Regions from separate parts of the Homo sapiens genome. Here all the other regions are linked to region 2. Evidence: promoter capture Hi-C in 16 types of primary human blood cells and fetal thymus (Javierre and others, 2016). All regions are on one chromosome and are shown on one strand. Each heading gives the region's core, a stretch centred on a gene start or on the middle of the fragment in contact. The rest is flanking DNA. Distances are from core to core; before and after follow the strand shown.

Region 1 (2,990 bases), core at 19-2,518, 3.8 Mb before region 2:
TATCTTATTATTATTATTATTTCTTTTAATTCCAGCTGTAGAATACTATAGATGAACACTGGGGCTATTTTCTAGAATCAGTAGTAGTATTAATGCATTTGTAGAACATATATCATTTTCACGGTGTCTGAGTAACTTCTGTAAGTCTATACTACTACTTCATGTGGAAAAATTAGAACATATTGCATATGTTGCTTACACTGAAGTCTTCAAGCTTCCCAACAGCCTGAACTAATGAAAATGTTGTGTAGGACGGTTATTACCTTTGTAAATATAGAGTACTTTTTGTTAAAATTCAGAAGCATCCAGTAAGTAATGAATATTACAAAGTAAAGCAAATTAACAAATTCAAATCACTAGTAACACCAATTTAAAGGTAGAGATATGAAAGTTAAAATAATGTTATTTTATTTGTTCTGACTCTAAGTGTCCATAGTCTTAGAACTAAATTGATAAACAAAAACAAGAAAAAAGTATGGCAAATGGAGAGAAAAATGATAAATTGGCTGGGCATGGTGCCTCACACCTGTAATCCCAACACTTTGGGAGGCCAACGTGGGCGGATCACCTGAGGTCGGGAATTTGAGACCAGCCTGACCAACATGGAGAAACCCCGTCTCTACTAAAACTACAAAAATTAGCTGGGCATGGTGGCAGGCGCCTGTAATCCCCACTACCCAGGAGGCTGAGGCAGGAGAATCACTTAAACCCAGGTGGTGGAGGTTACAGTGAGCCAAGATCGCGCGATTGCCCTCCCACCTGGGTGACAAGAGCAAAACTCCCAGTCAAAAAAAAAAAAAGAAAAAAAGAAAAATGATAAATTGTTTGCAACGTTAATAAAACCATTGAAAACACAACTTTTCTGCCCAGGTATATCATGAATTAGTTATAAATAACTTATATACTTCACTCATATTTAAAAGATCAGTTTTTCCCATGTGGTGACACCCATGGCTAACTGGCCTTCCCCATAGCTCTCACTGCAAGTGTGACTCTCATACAGTGAGGAAAATAAGGGCTTCTGGCTGGGACTCTGTCCCTAAAAATAAATGGCTGTAGCTTTTTATCAAAATTCAGAGACTGTTCAGAACATGGTTGTGATAAATAGTATACTTGCTTTTCTTCAAATTGCTTTAGTACCCTATAAATGCACATTAAAAGACGTACCAGTCTGCCTCAAAACAAACAAATAAACAAGTTATAATAACAACAACCACAACAATAACATTTATAGGGTCAAAATATCCAGAACAGAATAACTGATAACAAGGCTGAGTGTTATTGTGCCATCTTCTACTGTCTACTCAATGCCATGCACCATCTTGAGGGTGGGAATATAACGGTAAGCAGACATGTCTTCCACCATCTGCACCATACTTATAACGCAGAGTGGAAATATATCTTACAGTCGCAGGGAAATGCATATTTTAAAATTTAGATATGACAACAAAACACGGGGCTCTTAAGGAATGGAAATAATTTCAGTGATAGTTACTGGATTATGGAGGGAAAATTATACTAGCTTGAGAGCCAAAGTTGGAAAGGAAAACAGGAACCAAACCATGAGGGGACATGTAAGTCAGGTTTCAGAGTATAGACTTTCTCCTTAAAGGAAAGGGAAGCCTTTGAAAAGTTGCAAACAGAGAAGTGCTATAATCAGACGTTTGTCTCCCACGTAAGGCAACTGGGTAAACATTAATATCATTCACTTAAAGAGAGATCAGGCTGGGAGTGGTGGCACACACCAGTAATCCCAGCACTTTGGGAGACTGAGGCAGCAAGATCATTTGAGGCCAATAGTTTGAGACAAGCCTGGGTAACACAGTGAGGCCTCATCTCTACAAAAAAATGTAAAAACAAAAGAGGGATCACTGGAAAAGAGGCAGGTTTGAGACATAATGCATTTAAATGATCAAACATCGAGTGTGATATGTCTATGACTCAAGGGTACATGTCAAATAGGCAATTCAACCTATATATTTAGCAAGCAAGATAGTTGTGTGGTGTGAAATATAGTTTTGTAGCTTTATAGAAGTAAAATTATACTTTAAGATGGAATAAGGGAGCAAAAGAAACAAATGCTACTAAAATGGCACTTGTATGCAAAGAGAAAGGGAAGAAAATATTCAGGTAATTTAGGGTGAATTTGTTCAATGATTCTGGATATTTCCGGCTCAGAGAAATTATGGGGGCAGAAAACTGATAGTAATAACTTAAGGATAAAAAGGAGAGATGACTTATTAGTGTATTTCAAAACATTTAACTTTTTTGTGGAAGAGAGAAAGAACCAAGTGTAATGATGGTTGAGTTAATAAAAGCTTCTTTGAGAGAAAAAGTTTTAATGTTCAAATACTGATGGTCATCAGCCAGGATATGTGTTTTTCTTTCTTTTCCTCCTTCTTTGTCTAAATAAAACAACCTTGAGGAAACCTGAAAGGACAGTGTAAGTTTTTGGGTACATATGTGTTAGAAAAATTGTTGAGTTTTTGTTCTAATTTTAGTTTGGTCTAGGAAAAAAGAGAAACTTTGATCAGATGCAAAGGGTACTTTCCAAAGAAAAGTGAAGCAGTTTCCTAATTTCAGGACACTTTGAGGAGAAGTAAAGGACAATTAACTTTACTTTGAGATTCTTAATGTCAGGACAACCGGACCTCTGGCAATTTTTGCCGTCCAACATTACGGAACATCCCTTCCTTTGTTGTTATATTGTCCCTGATCTCTCAATTTGTACTAGGGAATTTTAATAAAGTCGTCCCAGTTAGTCAATTCTTGCCAGTTCTACGTCTGCCACTCCCTGAGATAAAACCTTGTGGATCCCAGAAAAGACTGTCCTGCCAATGCTGGGACAGAAAGAGAGAAAATGAAAGGGAGAAGACAGGGGAAGGAATGTCAAGTAATTCTAAGTCAGAATTTGGAAACTGTAAGTCTCATGATATGAGTATGTGCCCCCTCTGCCAATTTTCCTGTTATATATGAAAATATAAAAATTT
Region 2 (3,012 bases), core at 74-2,573:
TAGTCGCGCAAGGAGTTGGTGCCCACGTCTGGGTCGAATGCGCTCTCCAAGGGGAAGCGAGTGCCTGGCGTGGCGCTCTCAGAGATTTCCACCGTCAGGTCTGGCTCCGGGAAAGAGGGGGGGTTGTCATTAATGTCCAGCACCTCGATCTCCACCTGGAACAGCTCCAGGGGGTTCTCCAGAAAGACCTCCAGGTGCAGGACACAGGAGGGGCTCTGTTTGCAGATTTGTTCGCGGTCTATTTTCTCGTTCACGTACAGCACCCCTGTCTCCAGGTTGAGGTCTAAGTAAGGGGTCCTTGAGTTGGGCACCGTCTGAAACCCGCGAGCCGAAAGTTTTGTAATGTCCAGACCCAGATCTTCAGCGATATTCCCCACGAAAGTGCCATGTTCCTGCTCCTCCTGTACCGTGTAGTGAAGCTGGGAAAAGACTCCTTCCACCATCCAGAGCAAGGCAAACAATAATAGCACAATCATCTCCAAAAGGAAAGGAAGTAGCTTCCCGCAGCCAGTCAGCCACCCAATCACCTCCCCCACCACCACGAAACAAAAAAAAATCTGAAAAAATACAAATAAAAGTGCGCTACGTGGGGGCTCCTGTGGCTTTCTGTCTTTAAAAATCTTACTCCTTTTGCTTCATTTTAGAGCTTCCCGCAATCCAGCCTCATTTTTTTTTAAATCTTAGCACAGGAAGGGTGACAGGCGTCCCCTTTCCTCATCTGTAATCTTTCCACTGACTAATTAATAAAATAACAATAATACAATAGTCAGCGTCCTTTATTCCGACAGTCTTGGCGCTGGCAAATCCCAAAGAGGAAATTTCGATATTTCAAGACTGTCCTCGGTTTGTCTTCTTGCTGATGGGAGGAGAACGAGGAGGAGGAAAAAGAGGAGGAGGAGGAGGAAGAAGAAGAAGAGGAAGAGGAGAAGGAAAAGGAGATGCTGTTGGCACCGTTAAACATGCCTCTTAATGTCAACGGCTGGCAAATGCAAAAGGGCTTAAAATCAGCGATATAATTTTGTGCCGGAAAAGCACAGAACGGCTCTGCAGCTTAAAACTTTCATTCTCTTCATTTCTCCGGATGGATGTTCTTCTTGACATTTTTTTCCTCTTTCGCTCTATTTGTATTTTTTGTCTTTCAGAGTCTTGGTTCCCTCTGTCCTCATCTCCACCGTTACTTGCCTCTCTGTAAGTGTAATGAGCAGTTTCTTTTCTGCTGTTTTCTTCCCAAGCCTCTTTCCCTCTAACCTGTCTCTTTTTCCTTCCAGTCCTTCCTTCCTCCTGCTTCAGCCTCTGAGCCTGTGGTCTGGGCTGGCAGTTTCTGAGCTCCGAGCGCTCGGCTTCTCCGTTTTTGCGCAGCGCCCTCATTCTGCCAACCAATCGCCCAGGAGCACCACCCACCGAGCTGCCGATGATTGGCCAAACTGGCCGCCAAACAGACACGTCACGCGGCAGCCGGGCGGGGCGGGACAGAACTCTCGCCCGAGCGGCCGGGGTGAGTGTGAGTGTGAGAGCGAGAACAGCCCCGCAGGTCCCGAGGCGCTGGCTGGGGACAATGCCGCGGAAAGTTCCCAGTCCCCAGCCGCAGGTAATGGGGAGGGAATAGAGAGGTTCCCCTGTTTGCATCAGCAAATGCGAAAACATAATAGCAACAGCTGCGATATCCTCTCCTAGGAGCGGGATTTCCAATGATGCTAACATTCTTTTTCCTTTAAGGTATTTTCCCTAATACGCATCATGGAAATAAATCATCGAGAAGGGAAAAAGTAGCGCAGGGCCCACTAATTGGCAAGGGTTACCTAATTAAGGGACCCTAGCAGAGACTGGCAGGGCATTTTAAAAGTGAGTATTATATGGCATGTGTCAATCTAAAGGTGAGGGGGTCTGACGGGGCCGTGAGGAAAGGCGCGAAGCATACGGAGTAGGGGGTGGAGGTGACTCCTAAAAAGCGGAGGAATTCACGCTAAAGGATGTGGGGATGACAGCGCTTACAGACGGGCAGACGCGTTCGACGTGCTTCTTTCCTCCCAAAATACATATTCACAAAATACTTACCAAGTAGATTAACTCACTCGAGGACCTAGCTTCGAGCCGTGAGCGCGTTCATCAGTGACTGAGGAGTTGATTTGAGCCGCTTCCTACAAGCCCGCCATCCTAACGCCGGGCTCTGGGGCATCCGGCACACAGCACCGCCAAGCGCTGCAAAGCGCCTCTGATATCCCTGCGCCTTGTGCGGCCAAGTGCCACGCAGCGGCTGGGAACACCGGCTATTTTCTATTTTTTTTTTGGCAATTGGAGATCGATCCCTTTACCCACCATGCTAGATTAGACCACTGATTTCTGCCAATCCTGGGGTCAGCCCGCGGGATGAGGACAGTGGGGCGGCGGCGAACGCGGGCGGGGTGGTGGGCAGGGCCCGTGCACACGAGGGGCCCGAGTGTGCACCGCTGCGGGTATCTGCGAACACGTTTGCACATGCACGGTACTTGCATCCATCCTCCCTGGCCCAGGGCTTAGCTCTGTGTAAGCCCCAACGGAGCCTCCCCGAGTTCCGAAGGACGCGCTTGACCAGCTGTGAGTGCCCCTTCCGGAGGCGCAGGGGCAACGCGGCACATCCACATAGCTAGTTCTTGTGAAGTTAAAACACAGCGCGAACTCTTTAATGCTGGAGAGTGGATAGAATGCCAGTTCTCTAAGGAAAGATCTATAAATATATATTTTTAATTAATGGGCCACTAGCAAGGAATTGGTTGTTTATTCACGAAAGAAGCCCCTATTCAATCTCCTTTTTATGCAAAGAGATAGGAAGGTCCTTTGCTGCTTTCTGGTAATGAATGACCCAAGAATACACCACCACAACCTGCGGGAAAAGTAGAGTCGTTTTCCGACCTGGAGATACGTTGCCATTTCCTCCTGGCAAGGAGTTAAGGAGGGCTAGTGTCCATGGGCGTGATAGTAGCCTGAGACGTGCTTCTGAGAGTCCCGCGAATGCACGTCTACTGCCCTGATTTC
Region 3 (3,477 bases), core at 566-3,065, 3.8 Mb after region 2:
TTGCAGAGTCTGTTTCCATTTCTGGTCTCATGACTTGCTGTGGGTCCACACTCAGCCTGGACTTCAACCAGCTGGCTCATAAGCAAACCCTGCATTTTTCCCTTCTGCTTTCTTTTACTTTGGGTGTTTTATTCCCATTCTTTGTCTCAGGATCCCACATCAAAATTCCCCCCATCCTTTGAAACTCAATTCCACCCTGCCTCTATCAAGAAATCTTCCTCTAAGTGTCCCACCTTTGTCTCTGGGGAAAATGACTCTCACAGTCCTTTGAGTGGGTAGAGCACAGGCTATGGATTCAGACAAATTTGAGTTTGAATTCAGTCTGTGTGCCATTAGAAAAGTTACTTACCCTTTCTGGGTCTCAGTTTTTTCATCTAGGACAGATGGCACCTTTCAGGAATATTGTAAGTGTTGTCCAGCGTGTGAGCAGTAGTCAATAAATGGCCACTTCTTTCTTTAAATGTTTTTCCCCCAGGATTCATCACATACTATCTCATTCTGTGACTGCTTAGATACATGTCTGAGCTCCTCTATTAGATAATACTGCTCAAATATTAACATATTGTAGAGGCCACCCATGACTTCAAATGTCAGCCACACCATTGTTCTTTTCCTCTTACTTTGCTTTTCTGCTTCATAGTGATGGTCACTGTCTGGCACTGCTCATTTTTTTGTTTGGCATCTAATTTCTCACTATATGAGCGCTCCATATGAGCAGGGGCTTTTACTATGTTGCTTACTAATGTATCACCAGTACCTAGGATAGTGCCCAGCAAATAGTAGGTGTCAATAATATTTGGCAGATTAATGAAGAATAAGCCCCTTGAGATCAGTGATAATTTCTTAATGATTATAAAACTTCAAGGCTGGAAGGGACATTTAAATCCCCTTATTAACTACAGTGCTTCTAGGACAACAATACACACAGTAGCGATCCTACCTTCTAATAGAAGGAGTAGCTCATAATTCCCTTGATGTTCCATCTCTTGAGCATCTCCCTCACATTGAGTCATCATTCCCAATGCCTAGACTTTCCCCTTCCTGCTGCTTATCTGCCTGATGAATTCCTATTCTCTCCTGGAGACCCTGTGTGACATAATGGCAGGAGCAGGAGCTGTGCAGGCATACAGAACTGGGTTTGATGGGCACATTCGCTGGGTAAACTTGCACACTTCATTTGGCTTCTGGGGGCCTCAATTGTCTTATTTATGAAGTAGGGATAGCAGAGGTGTGAGGGTAAAAGACGTCATCCATGGATTGCCCATTAGGCATCCTCATGGCAGGTTTTGTTTCATTTGAAAATGAAACAAAAACAAAACAAAAAGCTTTGCTGTTCCTTTCTCTGTGAATCTTTCTCTAACTCTGACAAGAAAAATTGATCACACCCTTTCTACATATTTTGATGAATCTTAGAAATTTCTACTCTATCAATAACCATATTACATTGGTACCACTTGGTTTCAAGTCTGTTTTTCCCACATGAATTGAGCTTAAGGACAGAAGTTACTACTTGACTGACCTTGGTAGCCCCAATCTCTAGCGCCACACCTGGCACAGAATAGACAGTCAATACATACTTGTTTATTAAATAAGTGAATCTATGAGAGTTGTACCTGGACTGTGAGGCTCAATGCCTTTGCTATTTCCCTAAATTATATTTCCTCATTGAAAAATTACTCTTACACATCACCTCTAAATTTGTGGCCTTTCCCACCTACCTTTCTTTCCTTAGGTCAATTAATATAGTCTTGGTGGCTCTCCCTATTGAGCTACAAAGTATTGCATGAATTGCCCTCTAATGTCCAGTTTCTTTCTATTAGCTTTCTTTGTCTAATTCAGTTTATGTACTCGTTCACTCATTCATTTATTCATTCATTTATCCACTCAGCATGCATGTATTGAACAAGGTGCAAAACAAGGTCCAAAACTCTTTGCTAGCTGGGTCAACAAGCACATCACATAGCTCTGGCTAAGCTGTGATTATCTTTTGTTTTTAAAAAATCAACATAGACAAAAATTCCATAGCACAACGTCCAGCAAGAATGAGTCTGTAATGCCAATTACCTGTACCTTTGCACATGCAGAATGAAGTCATTCTTAGTTTCCCTGGACATAGTTTAAAAAAAAAAAACGTAGTCAATATGTTTTCTGATTTCCAATTAATTTTCTAAGATTGGTAAATCTATATTTATATATTGATGAGCAGCACTAGGAAATAAAAGTCAGTTGCATATGGTATTATACTTTTAAATGGCACTATCATAGGTATTATAGCCAGTCCTTTTAAATCTAAATCTAAGCTTTTAGCGTATGATAAACTAAGCAGAGTTAAAGCAAAGAAAATGATTCATTTTCGTGCAGATCTTCCTATCTATTAGATTATCATTCCCTCCCAAAAAAAAGAGACAGATGTCACCCTGACCAGGCTTTCTAAAGAACAAAAGAATTTACAGGTTTGATGGTGCAAATGAAACTCGAAACTATCATAAAAGATGAAAATGCCCTCTCCACATAAGAAAGCAAATTGAAAATAACATCGAGCAAAAGGGCACAAGAGGAACAAGCTCTCATTATTAGATACTGCAAGTCAGAAAGCCTAAGAGCTTCCCTAGGCACAGCCCGTCACTCAGTCTGTACATCTGTAGAATGGAGATAAACAACAGCTCCTTTTCTTGTCACAGAGGTGGTAGGATTAATAAAACCAAGCTAGGAATGCATTTCAAAATGCACAGATGAAGTATAATAGAAATCAAGGGTAAAGACTGCTATTCAGAAATGCTCTTTCAAATATTCCTCATACTTGGGCAGATTTCTCTAGATGCTCAAGGCTTTGTCCACACGTGTAAGATTTTCAAAGGCCTCTGTGGCAAAAAAAAAAAAAAAAAAAAAAAAAAAAAAAAAAAAATTCATTGTTTGAATTGTAGAACAGAATAAGACCTCAAACCTTTGCTGACTGTCCAGAGTGTTGTTTCAGATGCCATATAATAAACAAAACAAAAAGGTAAGAGTCTCTTCAGACTAACATCACAGAAGCTAGAGGAAGGAACAAGAGTGCTGGATTAAAATATAGCAATCATAAATTCTATTTTGATTTCCTATTTCTTATTGCTGTCCTTGGAAAATCATTTACCTCTCCTCTCCCTCTGCAGTGGGTAGAGAACTGGGCTAGGTTTAGGATGCCTGGGTTAACACCTAGATTCAGCCATGCAAAGGCTCTGCACCCTCATTTTTAAAATATACACTGTGATTCCTATACTACAGACTGTTAAAGAGATGACAAAAATTATCATAAAAATACTGTCAACGGCAAGCATTCAATGTAAGAGGCTATTAGCAGAAAGTTGCTCTATCTACTGACTTCTAACTTCATAAAAACTACACAGAAATCATTCTGTTACCATTTAAAGACAAAAGCCCTGGTCTCACAAAATAAATAAGGTAGTCAACATCCCCACAGAAATCCACAGTATGAATTCT
Region 4 (3,088 bases), core at 272-2,771, 3.7 Mb before region 2:
GAATGAAATCCTTTGATTCAGCTTTTAATATCGGAAAGTGAGACAATGAATTATTTGCAATGACATTTCCATCCTGATATAGAAAAACAAAAAGTGTGACAAAAGCGATGGATCATGTATAGCAAAACTTGGAAGACAATGCCACTAATGGACATTATTGATTTGTGTCTGGTCCATTTGCAGGACAGAAAGACCTGTCATATAGGAAATTAGTGCTAATTTCCTATATGACAGGAAGAGTTTCCTGTAAGAGATACCTTTTCAAATTTGAAAATAGTGTTTCTATTTTAAAAAATTATTTTTTGTGTGTGTTTTAAAAAAAATATGTTCCGGTGTTAAATTTTGGCAAATTATCTTTTTTCAAATTTAAGTTGATTACTAAGGGGGAAATGTGTTAATCTGTGCTATTCTAAAGAAGGAAAAATATAGAATTAAATTTTGAATGGGAGAAGCACAGGTGATTTTTTGTGCTCTCAATCTTAAAAGACATCTTGAGAAAAATTATTTTTTTATCTTCTGCTATGTTTAAAGCAAAAGATAAATTAGAAAATTCTAGGAAATGGAGTTATGGTATTATTAAGAGAGTTTGAAAAGGAAGTTGAAAAAAAATCTGAAATACTATATTCAGGCATTTGAGTCAAAGTTTAAGAATGAGAGAAGACAATGTATGAATATTAATTCCAAGCTAATTGGGATACAGTTCAAATAAACACAGCAATAGGGATTGGCATATGATAATTAGATAAAAAAATTTAGATGTGCTTGCCTATTAAATCTGCCAGATTATTTTTCAACTGCTTTGTTGATAAAGTGCCTCTCACTATATGCCAAGCACTGTTTTAAATGTTCGAAATAGTTTGATGAAGGAAACACACCGACTTCCTGCCCTCCTGAAGCTGACAGTTCTTGCCTGGAAAGCTTACACTCAAGCAACAAGTCCCTATTAAAGTGCCAGTGACTGAAGATCTCCTAAGCTCTCCAATATGATATTACTGGCTCAGTCTCCCGTACTATCAAGTAATGTTAATTCTTCTACATAGCATTTGCAATTCTTGATAAAGATCAACCTATTTGCAGCATTTGTCTTTGCACATTCTAGGTACTTAAAAACGCCAAGTCTCAGATGAAAACAGGAATGAAATCTTGAACATATTCTAAGTTCCTTATGGAAATGGGTTAGCCTACTGCCTGGATGTGAAATCATATCAGGAACTTAACATTTCACAACAGAATGTCAATTCAGCTGCCTGAGTGTGTGAAATGTAAAACATATGGATCGTTTTATCAACAACACAAAATATTGGCATTTCAGACACTCATTAAAAATGTCAATCATAAATTAACTGTGATGCCAAAAACTTGCTTGAGACATCTGATATTTGAGAGATAGAATTTAAAAGATATATGAAGCATCCATTTCTCTAGTCAGGAAATCATGAAACTGAAGCTGAGATTTGCATTTAGTTTTCCAAATTACATGACTTGACGGAATTGAGAGTTTATTCTTCCCCTTACACCATTACGTCCATGCTTTCAGAGAATAAAATTTGATGGTTTAATGACTGCATTCACTTACTTATAAATATTTATAGAGTTAGTGCCACAATTATGCCAAGTATAAATATAAAGGACATATAAGATAATAAACTTGCTTTTTTAAAAAAAACAGAAAGGTGTTATAGTCAAGGACCTCTCTGTCCTCTTAACATGAGTTTACATTCCTCCTTTCTTACTCTTAAGCTATATCCTCTTAGGCAAATTTTATTATCTTTCAAAACACCAATGTTTTTATTTGTAAATTAGATTTTGATAGCATGTGCCTGTGTCATACAGCTCTTGCAACAATAAAAAATTATGATATTTTTAAGAGCTTAGCACTGCACTTGTGTGGTAAACAGCTGTTATGTTTATGCTCGCTAAGTTCTAATTATTGTTAAAGATACTATTTTACTTTTTATTTTAGGTAATTATAATTAACATGTAGTTTGAAGAAGTAAGTTAGAGAAATTCTGTATAACCATCACCCAGTTCACCCAGTTTTCCCCATTGTGACATCTTGTATAACTATAGTACACAGTAATATCACAAGCAGGAAATTGGCATGGCTACAGTCACTAAAGCTTATTCAGAATTCACCAGTGTGTATATTTAGTGCTAAAACATTTTATCTTACATTTGTGTGACCATCACCACAGTCAAGACACAGGATAGTTCTATCACAGGGCTTCTGCTTGTTACTCTTTTATAGTGACAGCTATCCTCCTCCCTTACTCTGCCTCTAACACTTGACAATCACTAATCTCTTCTCTATCTCTATAATTTTAAGATTGTTATATAAATGCAATCATATACAACCTTTGGAGACTATTTTTTCGCTCAGAATAGTTTCCTTAAAATCCATTCAAATTTTCCTTTTTGAGACTAATATTCCGTAGTATGGATGGACTACAGTGTATTTAACGTATTTATCCATTGAATGACATATTTGTTGTTTCTGTATTTGGAGTATTAAACTTAAAGCTGCAGTGAACATTGGTGTACAGATTTTCAGGTGAGCATGTTTTCATTTCTCTTGGAAGAATGATCAAGAATACAATTGATTTGTCATATGGTATGTGGACATTTTTTAACTGTTACATATAATTTTGGGAATGGCTGTCTTTACTTTACACTCCAACCAACAGTGTATCACAGCTCTAGGCCTTCCACATCCTAGATAGCATCTGATGCAATCACTATTTTATATTTCAACCATTTTAATAGGTGTGAAGTAAATATTAGTATCATTTTAATTTGCATTTTTCTGATGAGTAACAATGTTCATATATTTTCATGTGTTTATCTGCTATCTCTATACCCCCTTCAGTTAAAATATCTGTTTTATCTTTTGCCTGTTTTCTCATTGAATCATTTTGTTGTTTTTGTTGACTAGATATCTTTACATATTCTAAATACAATTCTTATTTTGGATATGTGGCTATCGAGGTGTTTCTGTTTTGTTTTCTTCTGTCCGTAGCTCATTTTTACCCTCTCCACAGGGTCATTCACAGAGAAAAAGTTTTTAATTCTTGTGAAATCTAATTATCAA
Region 5 (2,990 bases), core at 265-2,764, 3.7 Mb before region 2:
TAGCCCTTGACAAGCTATTTTGATTTATTTAATACAGTTGTGAGCTATTATAGAAAGATTATTATAGAAAAATTTATTTAGTTTTTTGTTGCTTTTTATTTTTAAAATAATAGATAAGAAAAGGAAGCTATTTTCATTAAGGCATACAACTGAAAAGTTCTTTAAAGGGTGATTTTGATAAACATTTGTGAGAAAATGCAAAAAAACCGCACAAAACTAGGAACAATCTCACTACATTTTGAGAAAGTGATTAATAGCTGCTAGTTACATTCCTTTAAAAAAAATTCTTTTTGACCAGCAATCAAAGACTTCTGAAATCAGATTTTGTTCTTTCTGGTATATTTCACGTTTGAATACAAATACACATATACTTTTATATTGCTTGCCAAGAATAACATCAAAATAAAAATGATTTGCTTTCTGCATTTTTTTTCTCAAGGCAAGACATGTTGTTATCATTTTTCTGTGTAATACCCGGACATAAAACTCTGAGTGTAGAAATGATCACATTTCTTTTTGAATATCCAATTATGTGGTTGAAATAAAACTATTATTTTCTTAGAAATATATGTGACAAAAGGGTCTTAAAAACACAGGGGCTTGAGAAAATTTAAAAAAAAGAATATAGTGAAGTATAGGCCTGTATCATTACATATCACTTGTGTCATTACACTACATTTTAAGTGCCATTAAAATGATTAAAAATGTGAAACTGATTTCTTGTTATGGTTGTTTTAAAGCATCTGTTCTCTTTTTAACAATTTTGGTGTGAGTATGTGTTTATGGGCCTTATAAGGCAGCATCTCACAAATCAGCATCTGCATGTTCTAGGGACCTACTCTGGGCTTCCTCTAGTATCTAAATGTAGAAGGATCCAGTCAAAAGTTAAGATATTCACACCAACATGGCACATGTATACATATGTAACAAAACTGCTCGTTGTGTACATGTACCCTAGAACTTAAAGTGTAATTTAAAAAAATACTTTCTATTAAAAAAAAAACAAAGTCAAAGTATTCTCCTATGCTGCCCCTGGTACTAGATTGTAATTAGCACACAGATCCATCAAGCATATGTACCTGTCTTTTCAAATACACAAAGTAGATACATTTTAACATGAAATATTTTAAAGTTAAAAACAATTTGTAAAATTATCTATACTATAGAAAATAATATATACTATGCTGTGACATTTTATGCATTTTTATTTACATGTAAATAAAATTTTTACATACATACAAATTTTTACATACATACAAAAATTACACTATGTTTTTGACATTAACTTGCAATTCCTCCTCCTTAAAGGTTGGTGTAGCTCTTACTGGGTATGATTTGATGCACTATTGTTATAGTGTTTTTCAGTCTCTCCACTACTTTCATCTCCTGCTAATCTTTTCACATGTCCTCATGCCAACCTACATCTCTGTCTTTGTGCCAGAATGATTACTTCTGTTAAGTTTAACTGTATTCACTTAGAATAAAGACATTAAAACATTTTCCCCGTAGAGATTTTAAGCCATATGTTTTTAAAAGTGTTTTGGGTGTACGCTGTATGCTGAAAACCATTAGCAAATTTTAAAATCATTACTATTACCATTTTCTTCAACTCATCTAAATTGACTTGCTTCAATAACAAAGATATTGAATTAAAAATAAGTACCTAAAATGTTATGAAACCAATAATATTTATAGGATAGCTATTCAAAGCCTACCAATAAGATAAGAACTACATAAGGATAAAAAACAAACAAACAAACAAACAAACCAAAAACCTCTTTCAGGTCTTCTCAAGAAACAAAATTAACTGATACTGCAGTATTTTAACAAAACTATTCTAGGGACTAAAATAATTATGTATCATCCAAGAGAAAGAAAAATAGGCCATACTTTGTTTCCTTAAATACAAGGGCTTCAAATAAAACAGTATTTGAGTTGCTTCTTCTCTTTGTAGAGCCTAGTAGCTGATGTTATTTCTTTTCTTTACCTGTATTTTTAAAAAGACATATTTACTTAGCCATTTCATCTCTTTATTTGTTATTGCATGGGTGATTGATTGATGGTTAGTGACATTGCATAAATCTCAGCTTATGTCAAACTGTGGCAAAGTGAAATGGGAGGAAACTTGTCATCATTATTTGACCTTTACTTTAATGCAACTCTTATCAACTGCCACTTAGCTTTGGGAATATACTGAGCAATGCAGTGCCTGCCCTCTAATTATATTTTTTAAAAATAGAGTACTCTGTTTACATACTAAATGTTAGTCTACAAGTCATAGTTATTGTTAATATTGCTGTATCTACCTGTGACTTTAGAAAATAATTATCCTTGTTCGTGAGTTTTTCCATGTGTAATAATGATTTTCACATTACTACTGTATAAATTGAGCAATATAGTTTGACTCACTCTTGGTTAAAATAGTAAAAAAAAATGCCTAGAAACAGCCAATATGATATAAAAATGACTTGCCAGTTGGCCTAAGCTCAAAATGACAAATGTTTTACCTATCACATGTAAAAATATTGTTGGTAGAAGTATACTCAATTAGATTCATTCATTAATTTTTAAGCAATTTAAAGATATTGACACATTGCAATGTTTTGGAAAAGAAGTCATCATTGGGTTAATTTTGTGGTTAGGAGTACTATTTGAGTATTTAATATATATAAATATATTTAGTTTATATTATTCGTAATATTTAGTAAGAATTGATGCCATATTTGGATGCTGACATTTTAAAGATTAAATCTAACCAAATCACATGCTCTCTACCTAGAGGCATTAATGTAATTTGATTAAAATATTTATCCAATTTATTTTTATGCAAATAAATAATACTTAAGATAGTTACTAAAAAGAATTATTTTTCAAAATTATTGTGAATCTTTAACTTATATGTTTATTTTGAAAGTGGTAAATATAGACATGTTTATTTAAAATAGGAAAATTAAAAATTTATCTCATATATGTTATGTTACCTAGGACCA
Region 6 (3,046 bases), core at 352-2,851, 3.6 Mb before region 2:
AGACTGAAATCACATCTTCTCAGCTGCAACACCCAATTAAAGCCTTCTTCCTTGGCAATAAGCATTATATTAATGATTGGCTTTCTATGCAGCAAACAGCAGGACCTAGACCAAACCCCTGGTATTTTGGTAACAAAATAAGCAACAGGGGAGCCCCTGGGAAAAGAAGTCCTAAAGATGCTGCCCACTTGTAGACAGGAAAAATGACAATGGCTACTTTGGCTACTTCTGGCCTTGTGAGTGGGCTCCTCCAGCCCTAAAGGATACTTAGGCTGTATCCAGAAATAACCATGGTCGGGATTTTCCCTGCTGATGAGCATGGACCCTAGAGTAACATTTTTCTCGTTATAATAGTAAAAACAGTATTGACTAAATGAATACTATTTACTAGTATTAAAAATCTCTGTCCAGGAGATTTTAAATACTAATAAGATACGTGACATGTTTACTTGCACTAGCATATAGGACCACAGAGCATACATGCCCAAAGGGACCTCCCAAAACATGCTTGCAAGGAACACCCCCTCATGCCCCTTTATGAATAATCATGTAAGATTCTCATAAAAAGAATCCTTCAGCACTAGCTTCTGCTGACTCATTCTTTCAAGCATTAGACTCTGTTTTATCTTTCAGAATGTACTGTCTCTTTAAACGAACCCTGCTACTATCATTTTTCCAGCAGAAACAGCCACGAGCTGTTTTTCAGCAGGATCAGCCCAGCCAGAGCTGTTTGCCACTCTAAAAATGTACTTTATCTCCCTTCAATAAACTATACATCTCTTGGCTGAATTCTTTCTTTCAAGTTAGAGAAGAACTGAGAATCCCCACACTTCCCAGTAAAAGGTAACAGAGACAAAAACTGCAAGTCCTGTTGCCTGGGCAAGTGCAATAGAAAAACCTTTGACCTCTAAAAACACCTGGAATCAAGGAATCCTTCCCTTGGAACCAAGAAGACTGGAATATGACCAGAACCTGAACACCAGAACTCTTTCAGTCACAAGGAAACCCTTAACCTAGAAGATGTGGAGCTAAAATTTACCTCTACATACTTTAAACGGCCAAATTTGAAGCTCTTGAACCAGACTGTGCCAAGTCAAAATTCCTAAATCCTTTCCCTTGCCCTCTAAATCATCAACTTTCCCCAGACCCAAAGTTAGGGAGACAGATTTCAGCCCACTCCCCTCTCCTTGCTGGCAGGTTTTCCTTTAAAGCTTTTCTTTTCTTAAAAGACCCCATGCCATGGTATTGGCTTCTGTGTGCAGGGAGAAACAAGCCTATTCTCTAGGTAACATGGCCAATAGCCTAGCCAACGAAGGGTAATAGGACATTTCCTAAAGGAAGTGACTTTGTATTTTTTCCTATCAAAATATAATTATCATATCTGTTTTTAAGTAGTGAATGCATACATGAACAAAATTTAAAAGATACGCAAGTACATTTCAAAAGTAAATCTACCCCTTACTCACTTCCCTTAGTCATCCTTTCTCTTCTCTAGATACAAACACAGCAATCAGTGTGTCAGGCCCAGGAACTGTTTGTGGAGAGGCATTCCTGAGATAGGGGGAAGGGAAGCAGGCATACATATAAATGTACAGAGCCATGAAAAATGAAGATTTTAGCAATTACAAATAAATATTTCAGAAATTCTTGAGGAAAATGGTATATGTGAGGAGAGAAAGAAAAGCTGGTATGAGAGTAGATTGGAGATAACATATAGCTGTTTTTGAAGGTCTAGAAGCTCTTTTCTATTCTACAGTATTTCAAATGTTTCTCATCATACATACATTTGATATATCTCCTGAACACAACAGGATTAAACCTATCTTAATTGAATATCTATTGAGTACGAGGCATGAGTATAAAAAATATAAGCAAAATATGGACTTTGCCTTTCAGGTATTCATGATTAGTTGAGGCAAATGAAAATATGACACTATATGTTGGTGATAAATAATTAAAAACAAAATCTCCTCCCAACCTGGGAAGCTTCTCTACAACATAAAAGAAAGAACACAGTTGTATTATTGAATAAGCATTAAACCAGATTGTAGGTGTGCTAAGATATCGCAAAACAGAAATAAATCTCATTATTTTATATAGCCAAGCAGATACAATCCATTATGTACATGTTCTCAAGATAAATAATAACTAGTCTTCAAGTGCTAGATAGGACTTGACAGCACTATTTGTTACACATAGTTCATCCTAAATTCACTGGATACTTGGAATGATGTTCTGTGTATTATCCAAAGGAAAAATAAATTATCATATCTTTATAACATAAGATAGTTTTGCAATTTTAAGCTAAATACCTTCTGAAGCTAGGTTTCCACCCACCCACAGAAATTGGGAGATGGGCACTATGTTCTTTGATGATGAAGACATTTCAATGAGATGGTCCCCAGGTCATAGAGTAAGACATTCCCGAGCCTTTCACCAGGCAAGAGGCTTATTTGACATTTAAAAAGATTTACACACATTTTTAAAGACACAAACAAAAATTTCCATCTGCAAGTTTTCTAAAGTAAATGCCCTAAGAAAGGGAGGGGATGGATGTCTCTTCCCGTATTTTCAACAAAGAGAATTGTTTCTTTTCCAATTTGTATTTACCCAGACAATACACTCCTTGTTAGTATAAAATAGTGACACTACAAATTTCTGACTTCATTGCTATTTTCATCTTTCTCTGGACAAGTTGCAGCCCTCTAAATAACCCGAAAGTCGACAGTAACATACAACACAATGCAATTGCCAGAAATCTGATAAAACAACAAAACAAGTACATTTTTAAAAGTCTCTACACTATTGGTTGTAGGAATAAGCTTTGAATTTATCATATAAATAGATAATGGTTACATCAGATTCTTAACTAGTGTGATGGTTAACTTTATGTATCTACTTCAGTGGTCCAGGATATGCCGAAACAGCTGCTTAAACATTATTTCTGAGCATGTTTGTAAGGCTGTTTCTGGAAGAGATGGGTTTATGTTGGACTAAGTAAAGCAGATCCTCCCACCACAATGCAAGGGGGCATCATCCAATCCCT
Region 7 (3,037 bases), core at 505-3,004, 3.8 Mb after region 2:
TCACAGGCAGGGAAGCCAGGAACAATTGCTATCAGCAGTGGTGAGCTACTACAGGTTTTTGTGATCTTATCTATGTTTTAGTAACCTTATCTATGTTTTTTTTTTTGACAATTTTCTGGAAAGGAAAGAAAGTTGAGGCCCGGAAAACGTTTAGAAAAATTCTGTAGTAATTTAAGGACCAGTGGCATGAGCATGGAAAGGAGAAATCTCAGATTTTTAATGTCAAATGGAAAACTAAGATTACCAAAAGATTACTGGCAAACATTTTATGCTATTCTCTATTACATAAGCTTGCTGGAATAGCTTCACATAGTTTGAATAACAGAAGAAACTGCTGAAATAAAAATTATACAAGCAAAAGAGGTGAACAATTCTACAAGCAAGACAGCATGTTGTTATATTCCAATATATGTGTCTTTGTAGTCAGTACATCTGACTTCAACCCTAGCTTTGACATTTATTGTCTAATCCTGGACCTAAACCTCTCAAGTTTCAGATTGTCATCTGGAAAATGAGAGTTGTACCTGTCACTGACACCAGGAACTTTTTTTTTTTTAACAGCTGTACACTTATGGGTCCTAGGGTAATTGAAACATAGGAGAAACCTATGACCCAAAATCTTAGAAAATGATATAGTCATGAATACTAACTAGACATCGTGGGAGCAGTTCATGGGAAGCTCCCACCTGTCTCAAACAAGGGACAAGCTGACCTAGACGTATGAAGGGACTCACTGGAAAACCAATGGTTTCTACCTCAAGATCAAGCATTCAGCTCCAGATGTGTCAATGGGAATCATCTTCTGCACAGCAAGAAACATCTCAACCAAATGTATGATGTTTACTTCCCAGTGAGGTATTTTCCCTGATTTCAGTCAGCTTCCCACCAATATATGACTCTCATCCAGTGCTCTTTTTCTCACAGTCTCACTATCTCCTAATGAAAGTAAGTGAAATGTGATGGATACATCTATTTCCTACTCATCACATGGACAGATGCTTCTTGCAGTATAGCACAGCAATCTAGAGCTAGCCTGCTTTCCACAGACTGAAACCCATTCAAGACTTTCTTTACTTACCTCATTCTTATGACTCCCAAAGACACCTTCCTTACAAGATCATTGTAAAGATCAAAGAGAAAATGGATATAAAACATCCAGCACACAGTTGACACTGAACAAATGTCATTTGTTAGTTTCAGGTTCAAATCTTGGTGCCACTTACAAACTATAGGGCAAGCTTCTTCATCTGTAACCCACACGAATAATATCTACCTTGAAGAGTTGTTATAAAGATTAAATAATAAAACAGGATAGCATATATGAGCATTCTACTCACTTACAATGGCTTCCTTCTTTCTAGTTCTACTCCTCCAAAAAAGCATAATGCCATGGAATTTTGGAAGGAATAAAAAGGAGGTAAACAATTGGTTCTCAGAGCAACTGGTTCCAGGGCAGGGTCTGGGGTCAAACTGTCTGAGTTCAAACCACAACTCTCCCAGCTCTGTAACTTTGGGCAAGTTGTTCAATTCCTCTGTGCTTCAATTTCCTCATCTGTAAAAGGGCATAGCAATAGTATCTACATCATACAGGTAGTTGTAGGATTCAACCAATTGATACATACAAAGTACTTAGAACAGGACTCAGCACTTAATAAGTGTTCAATAAATATTACCTAGTATTGGCCAGGAGTGGTGGCTCACGCCTGTAGTCCCAGCACTTAGGGAGGCCCAGGCGGGCAGATCGTGAGGTCAAGAGATTGAGACCATCCTGGCCAACATGGTGAAACCCTGTCTCTACTAAATATACAAAACTTAGCTGGGCATGGTGGCATGCACCTGTAGTCCCAGCTACTCAGGAGGCTGAGGCAGGAAAATCACTTGAACCTGGGAGGCGGAGGTTGCAGTGAGCCGAGATCACGCCACTGCACTCCAGCCTGGCAACAGAGTGAGACTCCGTCTCAAAATAAATAAATAAATAAATAATAAATAAATAAATAAAGTTACCTAGTATTATTATTTGTTTGACAATTCTCCTTTAGACTTTAAACCATAGCAAAAAGAATCAGGGCGTACATAGTCCCTATAGGGGAGAGGTTATTTGTGCTCTTCTCAATTGTTGTGGGTGGAATCACTGTCAGCTGTGGCATTCCTAGGTTCATCTGCTTTCATACCTCCTGAATACTGTATGAAAATAAAAACTAATTCTGCTACCATAAAAAGGACACTTAGTGGCATTGACTTTGAAAGTTTGCTATAATCACTCAAGCTTCTTTTTGCTGTTAAAAGAGAAACAAGGTTTAAAAAGATTCTGTGTTTCAAAACAAATAACTCTAGGCAAACATTATTGCTAAATAACTGGTTATATACTGCCCCAAGAAAAGAACAGTTTCAAAAACTTGATATGGAGAACACAATCCAAACTTGTGTGTGTGTGTGTGTGTGCGCGCGTGTGCGTGCACACACCCTCACTCAAGCAAGCACATGCACATAGATACACATACATTATTTGCCTTTGTGTCTCTGGAAAAGATGGAAATGGTCTGAAATCAAGCAAAACAGATGGCTGAGTGGGCTTGTGAATCGCCTATATCTCAAGGAAGTTAAGAAGTCATTGCAGCAGTTTTTAAGGAGAAATATGTAAGTTTTTAGAAAGTTTTCATACTGTCTTGTCTATCGCTATGCAGCTTAGAATATGTACTTTTGAGATTACTAAAGAGTAGGACTCTGAGGACGCCTTAAAATCTGAGTGAAATAGTGCAAGAGCTTCTGTTCTGGATACTCTTCTTTATAAACCAGAAATATATTGGTGCTCTAACATAATTGGATACAGATGTGCTTTGCATCACTCACTAGTTATGTTTCTGAAAGAGTTTTACAAAAGTTGAAGAAAAATAATTTTGTGCTCACCAGAAGTGCTTACTGTTCTTAAAGGAATTTTATGTTTAAGCCTTTTATAAAGCAGTGAATCTTTTGTGAATATTCTTATCCTGTAAGTGTAAATAATCATTATTTTTTACACGGTGCACTGTCCTGTACA

The links. The method cuts DNA at HindIII sites, captures the fragments that hold promoters and counts their contacts. A CHiCAGO score of 5 or more calls a contact.
Region 1: a fragment that was not itself captured here is called in contact with the fragment with the promoter of PCDH10 in region 2 in 3 of 17 cell types (endothelial precursors, M2 macrophages and M0 macrophages); the score reaches 7.9 in endothelial precursors.
Region 3: a contact is called between a fragment that was not itself captured here and the fragment with the promoter of PCDH10 in region 2, in 1 of 17 cell types (endothelial precursors). The highest score is 7.1, in endothelial precursors.
Region 4: a contact is called between a fragment that was not itself captured here and the fragment with the promoter of PCDH10 in region 2, in 4 of 17 cell types (M1 macrophages, endothelial precursors, M2 macrophages and 1 more). The highest score is 16.1, in M1 macrophages.
Region 5: a fragment that was not itself captured here is called in contact with the fragment with the promoter of PCDH10 in region 2 in 6 of 17 cell types (endothelial precursors, M2 macrophages, M0 macrophages and 3 more); the score reaches 30.6 in endothelial precursors.
Region 6: a fragment that was not itself captured here is called in contact with the fragment with the promoter of PCDH10 in region 2 in 1 of 17 cell types (endothelial precursors); the score reaches 7.7 in endothelial precursors.
Region 7: a contact is called between a fragment that was not itself captured here and the fragment with the promoter of PCDH10 in region 2, in 1 of 17 cell types (M2 macrophages). The highest score is 5.7, in M2 macrophages.

Annotation. Positions count from the first base shown.
Region 1 is chr4:136,901,633-136,904,622 of GRCh38, reverse strand. The region is part of intron 3 of LINC02511 (long intergenic non-protein coding RNA 2511); the gene reads left to right. Among named protein-coding and RNA genes, the nearest start is that of LINC02510, 290 kb to the left of the region's middle. The HindIII fragment of the contact is 2,104 bases long and covers 217-2,320 here.
Region 2 is chr4:133,147,605-133,150,616 of GRCh38, reverse strand. PCDH10 (protocadherin 10) reads right to left here and starts at 1,323. Exons shown (of 5, transcript NM_032961.3): 1 at 1-1,323. The coding sequence starts at 476. It overlaps PCDH10-DT (PCDH10 divergent transcript), which reads left to right and starts at 1,501. Exons shown (of 9, transcript NR_125885.1): 1 at 1,501-1,588. RefSeq lists a silencer at 1,270-1,409 and an enhancer at 1,520-1,579. The HindIII fragment of the contact is 9,721 bases long and covers 1-3,012 here.
Region 3 is chr4:129,351,756-129,355,232 of GRCh38, reverse strand. No RefSeq gene overlaps it. Among named protein-coding and RNA genes, the nearest start is that of C4orf33, 260 kb to the right of the region's middle. The HindIII fragment of the contact is 975 bases long and covers 1,328-2,302 here.
Region 4 is chr4:136,880,036-136,883,123 of GRCh38, reverse strand. The region is part of intron 3 of LINC02511 (long intergenic non-protein coding RNA 2511); the gene reads left to right. Among named protein-coding and RNA genes, the nearest start is that of LINC02510, 310 kb to the left of the region's middle. The HindIII fragment of the contact is 1,202 bases long and covers 921-2,122 here.
Region 5 is chr4:136,858,203-136,861,192 of GRCh38, reverse strand. All of the region lies in intron 3 of LINC02511 (long intergenic non-protein coding RNA 2511), which reads left to right. Among named protein-coding and RNA genes, the nearest start is that of LINC02510, 330 kb to the left of the region's middle. The HindIII fragment of the contact is 3,099 bases long and covers 1-2,990 here.
Region 6 is chr4:136,740,104-136,743,149 of GRCh38, reverse strand. No RefSeq gene overlaps it. Among named protein-coding and RNA genes, the nearest start is that of LINC02510, 450 kb to the left of the region's middle. The HindIII fragment of the contact is 775 bases long and covers 1,214-1,988 here.
Region 7 is chr4:129,371,924-129,374,960 of GRCh38, reverse strand. The region is part of intron 2 of LOC105377417 (a long non-coding RNA gene); the gene reads left to right. Among named protein-coding and RNA genes, the nearest start is that of C4orf33, 280 kb to the right of the region's middle. The HindIII fragment of the contact is 1,028 bases long and covers 1,241-2,268 here.